Linked DNA regions of Homo sapiens: region 2 is linked to region 1. Evidence: promoter capture Hi-C in human tissues and cell types (Jung and others, 2019). All regions are on one chromosome and are shown on one strand. The core of a region is centred on a gene start or on the middle of the fragment in contact, and the rest is flanking DNA. Distances in the headings are between cores, read along the strand shown.

What was found. Contacts are between HindIII fragments. The study calls those that stand out against the background at their distance.
Region 2: a fragment that was not itself captured here is called in contact with the fragment with the promoter of KRTAP27-1 in region 1 in 5 of the 25 tissues and cell types used here (H1 embryonic stem cells, liver, mesendoderm cells and 2 more).

The regions. Positions count from the first base shown.
Region 1 is chr21:30,332,188-30,338,943 of GRCh38, reverse strand. KRTAP27-1 (keratin associated protein 27-1) reads left to right here and starts at 1,250. Exons shown (of 1, transcript NM_001077711.1): 1 at 1,250-1,931. The coding sequence starts at 1,276. The coding sequence ends at 1,899. The HindIII fragment of the contact is 14,979 bases long and covers 1-6,631 here.
Region 2 is chr21:30,467,098-30,473,853 of GRCh38, reverse strand. LOC105372772 (a long non-coding RNA gene) reads left to right here. Exons shown (of 4, transcript XR_937653.3): 3 at 396-490. Among named protein-coding and RNA genes, the nearest start is that of KRTAP19-1, 9.9 kb to the left of the region's middle. The HindIII fragment of the contact is 3,591 bases long and covers 2,275-5,865 here.

The DNA.
Region 1 (6,756 bases), core at 1-2,500:
GATCTTTAAACATACAAGTGTGGTTATTCAAAATTATAAATGACTTGCGTGTGTTACAAAGGTATTGTATACAAGATGAGTGTGCAGCCTATAAAGCTGAAAGTATTCAGATGTGCCCTTTTAAATTTATAATATCCTCAGTCTTTCAAGGAAGTGTTTGCATAAGAATTACTGAGAATTGCTGAATGTTCTTGGGCTTCTTCAGACCTTAGAAAGGGAGTCTAGTTAGTGCACTAAGACTATACTTCTATTTTATTGTCATTAGCTGAGCCAAATATATTATAGAATATGTTATAGAAATTGTGCTGGTTGGCTCTGTGCCATGAGTATGAAACTATGCTAAGAACGGTGTCCTAATGCGATAAACATAGGAACTGATCATCTGTCTGCAGTCAATAAAAAAAGCACAGAATAAAGATGAAAAATATCTGAAGAAGGTTCATTATAAAGGAAAATAATCAACCTTTGAGAAGCACAAACACAAGTAAACACACCACTTTGTCAAGTATAGAAAAAAGGAATTAAATCCATTAGTAATTCAGAAAAGGAAGAAATAACTCCTAAATGGGAAGATTGGGGAAGACTTCAGGAAAAGGACGCATTTAAACTTGGCTTTCAAGGAGATTAGGGAAACGAAATGTTAGGCAAAAGACAAGTATTTATTGGGCAATGGCCACACTCAGTACTTTGCATGAACACTGAGAAGGAATGTGATCACAAAGTCCTCTCACATTCTGGTCCACTGGAGAGAACAATATCTGAGTGGAATGAGATTGGGCTCAACCTGGATCCAATTCTAACTTTAAATGTCTTGAACATCAAATTACCACATTCTGCTACATTGGCAGCTCTCAAAACCAGTGCTAAATGTTAATCAGTATTCAGTTGGCCACTGCCTCATGCATTTCTCATTGTCCACTTACCAATGTGCAGAGTCATGGTGGCAAAAAAAAAAAAAAATGTTAGCTTGGTTGGACAGGTTTAGACTCTTATTTGACCAACCCCACCTTGAATGAGTCATCTTTGGAGCTAACATAAAAGCCATTTTGAAGATTCAAAATGGACTTACATCTTTGTTAATAAGACATCATCTGCATATATAACCAAAGTGGTAATGAGATGTTATCCTTCAAATTAGTTTAAGCAATGAGTTGCAAAGAAGTCTTGAGAAGCCAACACCCAGGTTTCTGAGTATATAATCGCCGCACCAAAGAATTTAATTTTCAAACTCAGCATGTTGAGTCCTTATGACCATCTTTAAGGATTTTTAGCAATATGCCTCATAGCCACTGCCATTCACTCAGGAGCTTCCACAATGCCCCACCACTCTCTGCCATCACACATGGCACTAATCCTATAACCTTTGAAGACAGATTGTGTTTGCCCAGCAGCTTCCATAGCAGAACCTGTTTCCTGGACAACTTTCAAGAAACCTGCAATGAAACCACCAGCTGCCAAATGACCAATTGTGAACAGGACTTATTCACAGACGATAGCTGTGTGCAAAGTAACTGCTTCCCCGGAGTTGTCCAAACTACTTACTCCAATTCCAGGCCCTGCGAAAGGACAGCGTGCCAATCAGAAAGTTCTTCAGCAGGGCTGGCTTGTGTTTCTCAGCCTTGCCAATCAGAAAGCACTCAGCAGATGGGTTTTGTAGCCCAGAGCTGCCAACCTGCAAGCCTCAAGGGAAACAGTTGCCCACCCAAGACTTCTAAGTCTAAAAATTTCGAAACTCTGGAACGTGCATCTAGCCAATGTCAGTGTCAGTCTCAGAACCCTGAATCCAGTTCCTGTAGACCTCTGGTCAATGTTGCACCTGAGCCACAACTCCTGGAATCTTCTCCAGGAGTTGAACCAACTTGCTGTGTTACTGGTGGTTCTCAATTGCCTAGTAAGTGAAGATCTGTAGGGGAGATGGCTTATATTCTCATTTGGATGAATTTATTTTTGAGATACTTAGATATTTTGTATTTCTTTAAATAAAAAATGTTGTGTGTGTTTGTTAGTAAATGAACATGTCTTATTTTACTACTGTCTCCAAAGACAAGATTTTTTTTCTTGTTTTTCTTTTGGGTATGTCTAGTGGTAATCTGGGGTTGGAAAGCATGCTAGCTATTTTAGAGCAGTAGGATACGATTTGTTATTAAGCAATAAGAGCTGTAGCCAGGAAATAACATGAATACTTAAAGGAAACATCACACTTTAACTGCAAGTTGTTTTCTTTGGAAATACTTAGCATTGGATCTGGTTTATTAAGTAATGTGCTACTAGTCTCAGAAATTCATAAAATATTGGAACCAAACCTAAAAGCCTACCTAGTCCTGTGAATTACGATAGGTTCAACTCTATCAGAGGTTGCCCAAGTAGTTAATAACATCAGAACCACAACTAAAATCCAGGCCTACTCACTGGCCATCTGTTATTTTAGCCATTGAATCACAACATTCTCAAATTAACTAGAAGATTAAGTCTATTGTTCGAATAGAGCAAGGTAATTTTGAATTTCACCTCCATGGGCTTTATAACCACGTAGCAACCAGAAGCCTTTAAATAGAATGAATTGAAGTTTAGAATCTTCACTTCATTTCGTTCCCGTTGTTTTTTTGGTTGTTTGTTTTTTTCCTGTTTTCATTATTTCTTAAGTATTTTTTGAGTTTGGAAAATATTCTTTGTATTAAATAAATTTGCTTTCTTTGGAAGCAAAATTTGGACTTGTCACACTATTATTTTTATTCAATCCTTTTGCAGGTGTTATGTTACAGGCTTTTTGTTTCTTCGTTTGTTACCTAATGAAAATAGTATAAATATTTAGAAGAAAAGAGAACATATCCTCTTGTTATAATTTTTATAGTGTGAACCAGAAAAGAATAACTCATGGTGGTAGTCAACAGAAGATGGAAAATATACTCATATGAACATCATAAGACCATAGAGTCAGATGTTTGAAATTGATTAATTTTATTTAGGTAGCTTAGCTATTCTGAAACTTTTGGTGTGTTCTTAAATTGATCTTTCAATTTTTTTTTTTTTTTTTGAGATGGAGTCTCGCTATGTCACCCAGGCTGGAGTGCAGTGGCGCAATCTCGGCTCACTGCAAGCTCTGCTTCCTGGGTTCACGCCATTCTCCTGCCTCAGACTCCCGAGTAGCTGGGACTACAGGTGCCTGCCACCATGCCCGGCTAATTTTTTGTATTTGTAGTAGAAACGGGTTTCACCACATTAGCCAGGATGGTCTCAATCTCCTGACCTCGTGATCCGCCTGCCTCGGCCTCCCAAAGTGCTGGGATTACAGGCGTGAGCCACCATGCCTGGCCTTGGATCTCACATTTTTTCAGGGCAAAATAAGGTAGTGGTTGAGAGCATGAACTCTGAATATGGATTTCCTTGAGCTGGAATCTTAGCTTTGCTTAGTGATGGCTGTTTAAGTTCCAACTGTGTGACTGTGTGCAAGTTATTTAACCACCTCAGTTTCTTCAACTTCAAAAGTGAAGGATAATAATAGGGCTACTGTGAGCCTTAATAAGTTAATAAATTGAAAGTGTAAGGCTTAAAAAATTACCATGTATATAGCATATTTAGCAACTCAGCTAGCTCAGAGACTTGGTATGGGGGAGGTAGTGGGGATTTGTAAATAAACCCAGAAATCCATGAGAGATTAGGAAAGCTAGTCATCCAACAAAAGAGAGATTAGCTGTTTTGTATTTTGGAAGATGCAGGCAGCATCATCTACTAAGGGAGAAAATTAAGAAACTTAAACGCTGTCTAGTTGAAGTAAATTGGCAAGTATCTCTGAATCTATGGCAAACCTAATGCTACTGATAATTTACCAGTTAGTTCTGAGGGTGGGTGCCATGGTAATTCTATGTATCAACATGATTGAGCCAAGGGCTGCCCAGATTAAGCATTATTTCTGAGTGTGTCTGTGAGAGTGTTCAAGGGAGATAAGCATTTAAATCAGTGTGCTCAGTAGATGGCCCTCTCCAATGTGGATGGGAATCGTTCAGTCCATTGAGGGCCTAAATAAAACAAATGGTCGGGGAAGGAGAAATGTGCCCGTTTATGTTTCCTGCAAGCCTACTTGAGCAGAGACATTGGGTTTCTCCTGCCCTTGGACTGGATTTATACCATTGGCTCCCCTGGTTCTCAGATCTTCACATTTGGACTGGAATTATATCACTGGTTTCCTTGAGTTTCCAGGTTGCAGGTGACACATCATGAGATTTCTTAGCCTCCATAATTGTGTGAGCCAATCCTTCGTGATAAATCACTCACTCTCTCTCTCTCTTCATACACACACACACACACACACACACACACACACACACACATGCATATATATACACACACATATATACAGTGAGATAAATATATATTATATATAGTCTGTCTATCTATCTATCTATCTATCTATCTATCTATCTATCTATCATCTATCATCTATCATCTATCTATCTATTTTATTGGTTCTGTTTCTCTATGTAGCCCTGAATAATACAGTGGGATAGACACAGGCCATCTCAAAGAGGAAGACTTAAGCCTAAAATCTGTAAACCACCACATACACAGGTGCTCTGTAGAGGGATAGGATTGACGGAAGTCTGAGAGAGGCCAAACACTATTCAATACCATCAATAGTACTCAGAGCCTTTGGCAGCCTCAATAGCAGAACATCCCTGAAGCAAACAACATTGACATAAAGCTTCTGTCCACAGCACTGATGGCAGTAACACAGCATTGGCAACAGTAAAGACAGAATTTATCTCGTGGCAGCTTCTCAGCATTCTAGTCACAGCCAATCATGTGAACATAGATCAAGTTCATTCACAATAAGGATTTTTACTATTGCAATGCCAACTGGGTTGCCCAGAAAAAGCTCAATTCATTTGGACCACTGTTTCTAAAGACAAGAGGGAAAACCTACCCATTCCATGTGCCTTCCAAGTATATATTATTTTACTGGGTGTAGCTTGCTGAGAAAACAGGACTTTGGCGAAAACGGGCTATGTGTGGTATGTGTTGTGGAGCAGGGGAATGCCAGGAAAGAGGGACGTGATGTTAAGTTTCACTTTCCCATCTACTCTGTTCATCATTCTAGACATTAGCTTTCCAGGCTGAGCTTGACCACTGCTAGAAAGAGAAGCTAGCTGAAGAAGGAGCCAGTATTTAATCTAACTCAACATGGAGCATATTAGAGCTCCTCATAGAAAGAAATTATGTGGACTCAGGTACAAAAAGACTTTTGATATTGGAATATGGAATGCCATAATTATATAAACCTTGGTAGAAAATTTAGTGTAAGGAAAAGGACATGAATCTTATAGTATGACTAGATCTTACTCAATTCCAAATTCTGTGTATTAAAAGCTATGTGCTCTGGGATGAATTAACATTCTTTTTTTCTTTTTCTTTTTTTTTTTTTTTTTTGTCAGTGTCTCACTTTGCTGCCCAGGCTGGAGGGCAGTAGTGCAATGTTAGCTCCCTGCAAACTCTGTCTCCCGGGTTCAAGCGATTCTCATGCCTCAGCCTCCCAAGTAGCTGGAATTACAGGTGCATGCCACAACACCTGGCTAATATTTGTACTTCTTGTAGAGATGGGGTTTCATCATGCTGGGCAGGCTGGTCTCAAACTCCTGACATCAAGTGATCCACCTGCCTCAGCCTTCAAAAATGCTGGGATTACAGGCGTGAGCCACTGCACCTGGCCCAAATTAACATTTCTGAGACTTGGTTCCATTATTGTAAAATGGAGATAATAATATTAAAGTCATTGGATGATTATGACAACTAAATGGCATGATTCCAATTAAATGCTTAGTGGACTGTTTGGCACATAATAAGAGCACAATATATGCTAGGTATCATTTGATACTTCGTCTGATATTTTTCTCTTGGGCCTCAATTTCAGTTTGTTTTTATGATTGTCTATAATGCATTTGAATCCAGGGCAGAGACCAAGAAAATTATTTCATTCCATGTGAAAAGAATGTAAGCAGTATGGGACATAACCAGGATATTCTATGCAGGACTCATTTTTAAGCAATGTCAAAACATACCGGTGGGTATATGCATGCTACAGAGCATTCTTCATAGACCAAGGGACTTCTTCCTGCCTAAAAAGAATGGTAGGATTTGTACATTGGTATCCTGAACACCTCAAGACATTGGTAGTTTAACCACATGTTTTTCTCTTAGAAGTAAAGCATAATGACTATCAAGAATGTCTTCTTGCCTGTACAGTGCTGGGTCAAGAGCCATAAAATAGCTCTTATTAATTGGGTGCTTATTATTTACCTAACACTTTGTACATATTTTATCATTTTAAACTCAAATAACCCAGTGGTATAAGTAACATTAGTAAATCCCCCTTTTTCCAGTGAGGACAAAGGCACAAATTTGTCCTGTGGAGGACAAGACTTTGCTTTGTGTTAGAAGAGAATTACTCATATCTTTCTTTAAGCCACGATATCCTTCCCTAGTTCTACTCTGTCTTTCTACTTTCAAGAGTCTTACTTACTCCCTACTCTGTAATTTAAGTAACTTTTCCAGTACAGGAAGTAAATGGTGGAACGAGGGTTTTAACCCATGAATCTTTAAAGTTTGAGTATAACACTGTAATACTTTAATTGTGCTTTACTTATATTATACTTCTAGTCATTAGAGTAGCTTCAAATGTGGAAGAAATATCTGTGCAATGTGGAGGACCGATACAAATAATTTGACTAAAAATGATTGGTCTGGTTATATTGTATTGCTGTG
Region 2 (6,756 bases), core at 2,821-5,320, 130 kb before region 1:
CAAACCATGCAATAGTGAGTTGTGAGGTATTATAACCTGTGATAAATTAAAAAGTATTTTGACTCTAAGCATAAGTTTGTGCACCTGAGCAGTGAAGGCGAGGCAAATGCCCCTAAAGAAGGTCCAATGTTTTAATCATAGGATGTCACTGGTCACATTTAAGAAGTAGAGGTGCCAGTCAAAATTCTTCTATGGTATCATCAGGAGAGATATACCTTGATCTCCCTCTCTCACTTTGCAGATTTATGTTCACCCATTTTTTGTTCTCAACTGTCTCTGAGAAAGAAGTTTTCCTTCTCCCCTGTAAGACTTGAGGCATTCATTTTTCCTTTTTTTCTCTTTCTTATCTTGTGGCTTATTGTTTTATTCACTATTACCTATCCTTCTATTTGGAGTTTCCCCTTGTAGGAAGACACCTGAAATTGACCTACCTGGAACCACCATCTATATTCTGGGATACTGTGCTTCAGTCTTTTAGAAACTCTTTGAGGTATTTGTATGCTAAAAAAGTAAAGCTCAGAGAGGCTAAAAAATTCCTAAAGTTGGATGTTTATACAAGGCAAAGCTGGGTTTTCAACCCAGGAAGTCTGAGTGCAATATACTATCTTCAGACATACACAAAGTCCTATGAAAAACACAACCAAAGAAACCAAGGTTAAAACCTCAGTGTCCTCTTGGTCTATCTTTAAGTTGACTGTCATCTCTTCCCCTTTTCTTCATGTCACTGAATGACCTAAAGGAATACTTGCACCCCCTCTGCATTCTCTCTCTTCCTCTGTACCTCATTTCTAGTGCAGTCTTCCATCCTCCTCCAATAGTCTGTCACCTAGTTGAAGCTAATGCAGTAAATGTTCCAAACAACTTCTTTATTGGCAAATCCAGTGTCATCCTCAAAGTTTTGTTGAGATGCAGTGTCACTAGGTGGTTAGGCATGAACTTTCTGAAGGCAAATTCACCTAAGTCAGACTGTCAGCTCTGTTACTTTCCAAGGTGACCTTGGAAAAGTTACTTAAACCCATTGGATTTCAGCGTTCTCATCTGTAAAACTGGGGTAACAATAGCAACAATTTCATAGGATCCTTGTGAGGATTAAATGAGTAACGCATACAAAACCTCAAAGCATAGCTTGTCATATAGTCTGCAATCAATATATATTAGTTATTGCTACTTTTATTTTGACACTATTATAATTGACTTTGTTTCCATTTTCTATTGCCATCATACTGCTGTGTTACATACAACGATAAGCTGTATAATAAGATGGTTCATGCTCAACCATCCAACGGCTGGGGGAAGTAAGATAGCCTTGCTGTTTGCTCACATGACTGGGGTTTGACTTACTGTTGACTGGGGTAAAAGTGGGAATTGGCTTTGCTCCATCAATCTCTCACTCTAAAATTAGGCTAGATCTACTTACTGTGTTCTCATGAAGATGGCAAGAGTATGAGAGCAAACTAGATTCTTGCAAGAACTTTCATGCTCAGAACCAGAACATCATCAATTCTGCCTTTTGGCTGGTAACACCATGTTATATGACTGTGCCAGGAATCAGAGTGAAAGAACATTTCAAAGTTATAACGCAAAGAGAGTAGATGAGAGGGAAAAGATAAAGCTTTGTATTCTACCAGAGAACCCACTGTCTAGCCTTTGTTTATTTAAAGCTAACCTCCTTTACTCTAAGCAGTAGTTGACAACTTCTCTGCAAGTTGTGGTGCTCGAATCTACATTCCCAGTCTATAGGAATGCCAGACACAATAATGAACAAATTATGAAGTTAGAATTTCAGATAAGTAATAGAAACATTTTTGGTATGTCTAAAATATTATATAGAGCGTGCTTATGCTAAACAAAATATTATTTATTCAGAACTCAAGTTTAACTGGGCACCCTGTATTTTTATTTGCCATATATGGCATCTCTCCCAAACCGGTCTTTCTTCTGATATTTATCTACCAGAAGAATGTTTCCAAATGCATGTCTCCATAGACAGCTGAGCTTAAACTTATTCTAACCAATAGATTCTTCTTCCCACACATGCACCCTTTTTGCTTCTCTACAAACCCCTTTCCAGCATTTTGATCCACCAAGTGCTGCAAAATTAAACTTTTGTGAAAATAATTATCCATTTATGTCCCTCTCCTCACTTATTGGCTACTAATTCCCCTTAACCTTGACATTTATATTTTTCTCAAAGATGGCACACTGTCTGCATCACCAATTCTTCTTTCTTATTTTATGTTTTTTCATCTCTTATCACAGTAGTCTCTACTAAGGATTTTCCTAACTCAAATTTTATTTTGCTTACATCTTAAGGTGCCATTCTTACTAGTTAGAAACTCAAAGTTCAAGTCAAACTGCTTGGATTCCAATACTAACTTGACTGAGGATTAATTCTCTGAACTTGGGAAATTTATTTTATCTCATTAAATCTCATTTTTGTTATCCGCAAGTTGAAAATAATCTCATTGTTTTCCCTGTAATGTGGTGAGGACTAAACGATCTATTATTTGCAAAGTACAAAAGAATGGCCAGGCAGAATAAATGGTAGACAATATCCATAATAATAATGATTATTATTACTATAATGCACTTATTCTTTTATAATACCTGGTGTCTCTATTTCATCCCATCATAATACCTTTTCATCTTGCAAGTCTTAATGTGCAAAAACTACTCTGACATCATAGTTCATGAAAAATGAACAAACACCCTATCCTCAACTGTATTCTTTTCACGTTTTCTTTTCTCACAACCACTTTTATCATATAATGTGATGTTTGCTTATCTTTCTCTCCTGCTCAATAATGAGCTTCTTCTTTGCAATCTAGATTTACTCAACTTTAATGCATTTGAATTGAAAATCATTACAGATTCATAAAGCTAAATGTATTACTTTATTATATCAGTCATGGTTACAATGCAAGATGGCTATTAAGCTTGATATGTTCCCATTTTAAATTGTATGCCTTATATGCTCTATTTTCATGTTAAAATAATAAGGGAAATAGTTTGCTCAAAAGATTTAAACAGCTCATATGAAACACCTGGATTACTTCCTAGGCAAAGAGTAAATGGAAAATATAAGTACAGTAATTTATTAGAACTTTTATGTCAACAGTCTGTACTGTATGAAGAGACTGAAACACAAGCCCTGTCTACCAGGCAGACTATTTAATAAGCATGCAAAAACTTTACTGAGACTATGGGTAGTTTGACGAACTGTGGGAAATCTGGGAGACTGGGTTGAGAAGTGGGATGCGACCCAGGGTTGTCAATATAGCTAATATAGCACCCAAATCAATGACACAGCAATAGTCTTGTTAGGATATTATTTTTGTCATTACTGCCATTTTTCTTTTTAGCCACCACTAGAGTGGGGCACTGCTACTACTGACATTCCTCTTGCCATTTTTTTCTGCTTCTGGATACCTCTGCTCTAGATACATTCTGAATACCGTTTTTTGTCTTTGTGTCACTTTGCTAAAAATCCAAGACCAGTTGAGACAGTTGATTAGCCAAGCTTAATTCAAATGCCTAAGACATCGCTACTGGGAGCAATGAAAGGAATTATCTAGTCCTCTTTAAGGTCTGCATTGGGAGCCACAGTACTGTCTCCTCCTAAACAGAAACAAGTCTTAGATACTGAGTAGCCTCACAAAAACAAGTCATAAATGTCAATGACACAGAGCCCAAGTTAGAGCAAATGTCTATATTTTCTTCCATACCAGATTCAGCCCAGAATATAAATAAGCACACTCTTAGTTAAGTAACAAGAGTGCTACTGAAATCTAATTTATTTTTTAACTATACCTCCCAAACAATTTATCCAGTTTTCTAAAGTGACTAAAATTCTCTGAATTAAACCTTTGCCTAGCACATAGGGTTAAGACTTGTGGTCATGGTGAGAATTGTAAATTCATTTCCTGAGGGTTTGGGAAAAGAACCATCCTGTACATTATTACCATTTACTTCTGGAATACTTTCCACCCACATATTGGGAGGGAAAAGGGAGAGGAAAAGGAGAAAGCAGAGGAACACACATGGAACCAGAGATGCAGAGTCAAGGGAAGAAACTCACATGGATGGAGTGACTCAGTAATAAAACCTAGCCCCCAAGAGAGGCCACGTAGTGACTGACCTCTTCAGGATGGATGTGGCAGGGGCAAAGGGTGGAGATCAAAGGGACATGGATAAGAAGTCAACAAAGATAAACCATGTCTACAAAAATTATGCCCCAAGCCTTTAGGTGATCTAAGTGTGTTGTAGAAAACACCATCAAGAGGTGTCTGCTTTTTCCCCTTCTGGCGAGCTCTATAAATCAGCAATTCAGTGAAGTGGAAAAGCATAGCCTCTGAAATCAGCTTACCTAAATTCAGATTCAACACACACACTTACTTAATAGCCATGATGACGTCGGGCATTCCATTACTTCAGCTCTCTAGGCCATCTATAAAATGAGGGTAATAACAATACTTACCTCATAGGGGATCGTGTTAAGTGAATCAAAACATCTAAAGTTCCTGGCGTATAATAAGTATTCATAAACACTTACTATTCTTAAGATTATTATTGCCAGGTTAAGAGATGTGTCTATCCCAGGGACTCAGCTTAAGTGGTTAACCCTTTAACAGAAGTTGGTTTTGAATAATGGTGGACAGACCATGATGTTTACATAAATATCTTCTTACAGAGAATGTCAGAAGCCATCATGTATAATTAGTGAAGCAAAACAATCTTTTGAAATACAGTTGAGGGATTACCTCATGTCATGGAGTAAATTTATGGGGATCTCAGTTGGGGTCAGATAAAAGCCAAGGCTTTGAGAATGGAAACATTACCTCTTACAGGCACAAGTTGATTAAAGGAATACTAAATTCAAACATGTTAATATTCAAGAGGCCCTCCCTTCCTGGAATCAAGGGAATATTAAAGGGTTCGAGGGGCTCATGTGCTATTTGAGATGTAAAGCCTGTAGGCTTTACCAGCCCCACTTCTAAGGGTTTACAATTTTATTGTACAGAGAACAGAGAGTGACATTTGAACTCAAGTCATGTGGCTTTTTCTACCCAGCTGAATTCATTTCCCTAATAGCTGCAGTCACTGACAATCTAGGCTTCCACAAAAGCTTTGGGGTGAGTACTGTGACTTCAATTGTTTAAATCACCATTCTCATTTTGGCTGTAGAGATAAAGACCTTGGCAAACAGGATAAAAATAAAATTCTGGCCTCTCTGTGGTCATGTAAGGTGCATATTCCCTGTAACCAGATCAACATCCATTAAGAAGATACTAACATTCCGCATTCATTGAATTAGAACCATCTTTGTGCCATCCCTGGGACCTGTGTTGATCGTTTGTGAGCCAGGATATTTAAAGTATGACATTTTTTTCCTCAAACTATTTTGGAATATGACTAGTTTGGTATTTAATTGTTGTAGAATAAATCTCAACTTGGATACCTTTCACATCATATTGAGTCTTCCAGGCTGCTGAATTTCGACCTCAGAGATACCACGTGAAAGGAGGTTTCCATGGGAAGGAAGAAATAAACTCACAAGGTGCTTTCAATGAGTGAGATGTGATGTGACGGAGTTATTGAAAGGACATTATTCTTCTGATGGATTTTTTTCATTTGAGGAGCATATCATAGTCAGGTTCTTTATGGGAGTATTTTGTTGGTATGGACAGTTTTTTTTTTCTTATTCTTAGTGGTAGAAAATATTAAAAGACCATAATATTTAAAACAAGTAAAGCAAATGTGTATCTAATACTCAGGAGCAGCATGGAATGCTATTTTAAAACTAAGTCTGTATCATTGAAAATAAATTAATCCAAGCAAATGATCAAACAAATTGATTTTATACGATGTAGAGAAATACTCATTTATTTATTAATTTTCTTTAATACTTTTCTTGCTTTATAAAAGGTTCAGTCTTTGGCAAAAAAAAATCCATATTAATGACAAAAGACTTGAAAGAAATGGCAACCTAATCTCAATAAAGATTTAAGCGATGAACATCAAGATTATGGCATCATGTACAACTTATTTGACCCTTTTGATTGTACTAATCCTCCAAATTAGAAAGTCAGTTTTACCTGCAGCTCACTTAGCATGGTGATTGTGTTTGTGCACTAACTTTTTAACATTTACTTGACCTTCACTCCAGTATTCAATTTGTAACTTTCATAATGACCATGTGAGGCATTATTTTTCCCTCTGTATTGTTTCCTTTGAATCTATTTATTATTGTTTCAATAGGCAATAATTTGTGAGAATCATGCTTCTTTGGTGTTGATTGGGCCTTCTAAATGAAGAATGATTTCTTGCTTTTAGTAATAATATATGCTGTCCCCATAGTCACCTGATTATAATGGCTGGGTATCTTTCAAAGTGAATTTAAATGATGTAGCTGATACAATAATCTTCTAACAAAAACCGATCTCATTTTCCTTTTGGAAACACCAGTCAATAATCTATGGTGACTTTATAAGTGACTTTATCAGTGGATGATTTTTTTCAACTTTTACTCCAAAGAGTGGTATAGTACATCGTAATCATTTACAGGTGATGCTCGTGGCAGGTATAAGTTTCTATAGGTCATCAAGCTTGCTCTCCCCATCTGTAAAATATAAGTGTTACACAAGTTTTACACCCAAGGTTACATTCTATGATCTTATTTCTGCCATTACTATTGAGCAGAACTTCTTTTTGAACATTCAAATTTCACTTAGAAAATAAAGCCAAATACCTTTTAAA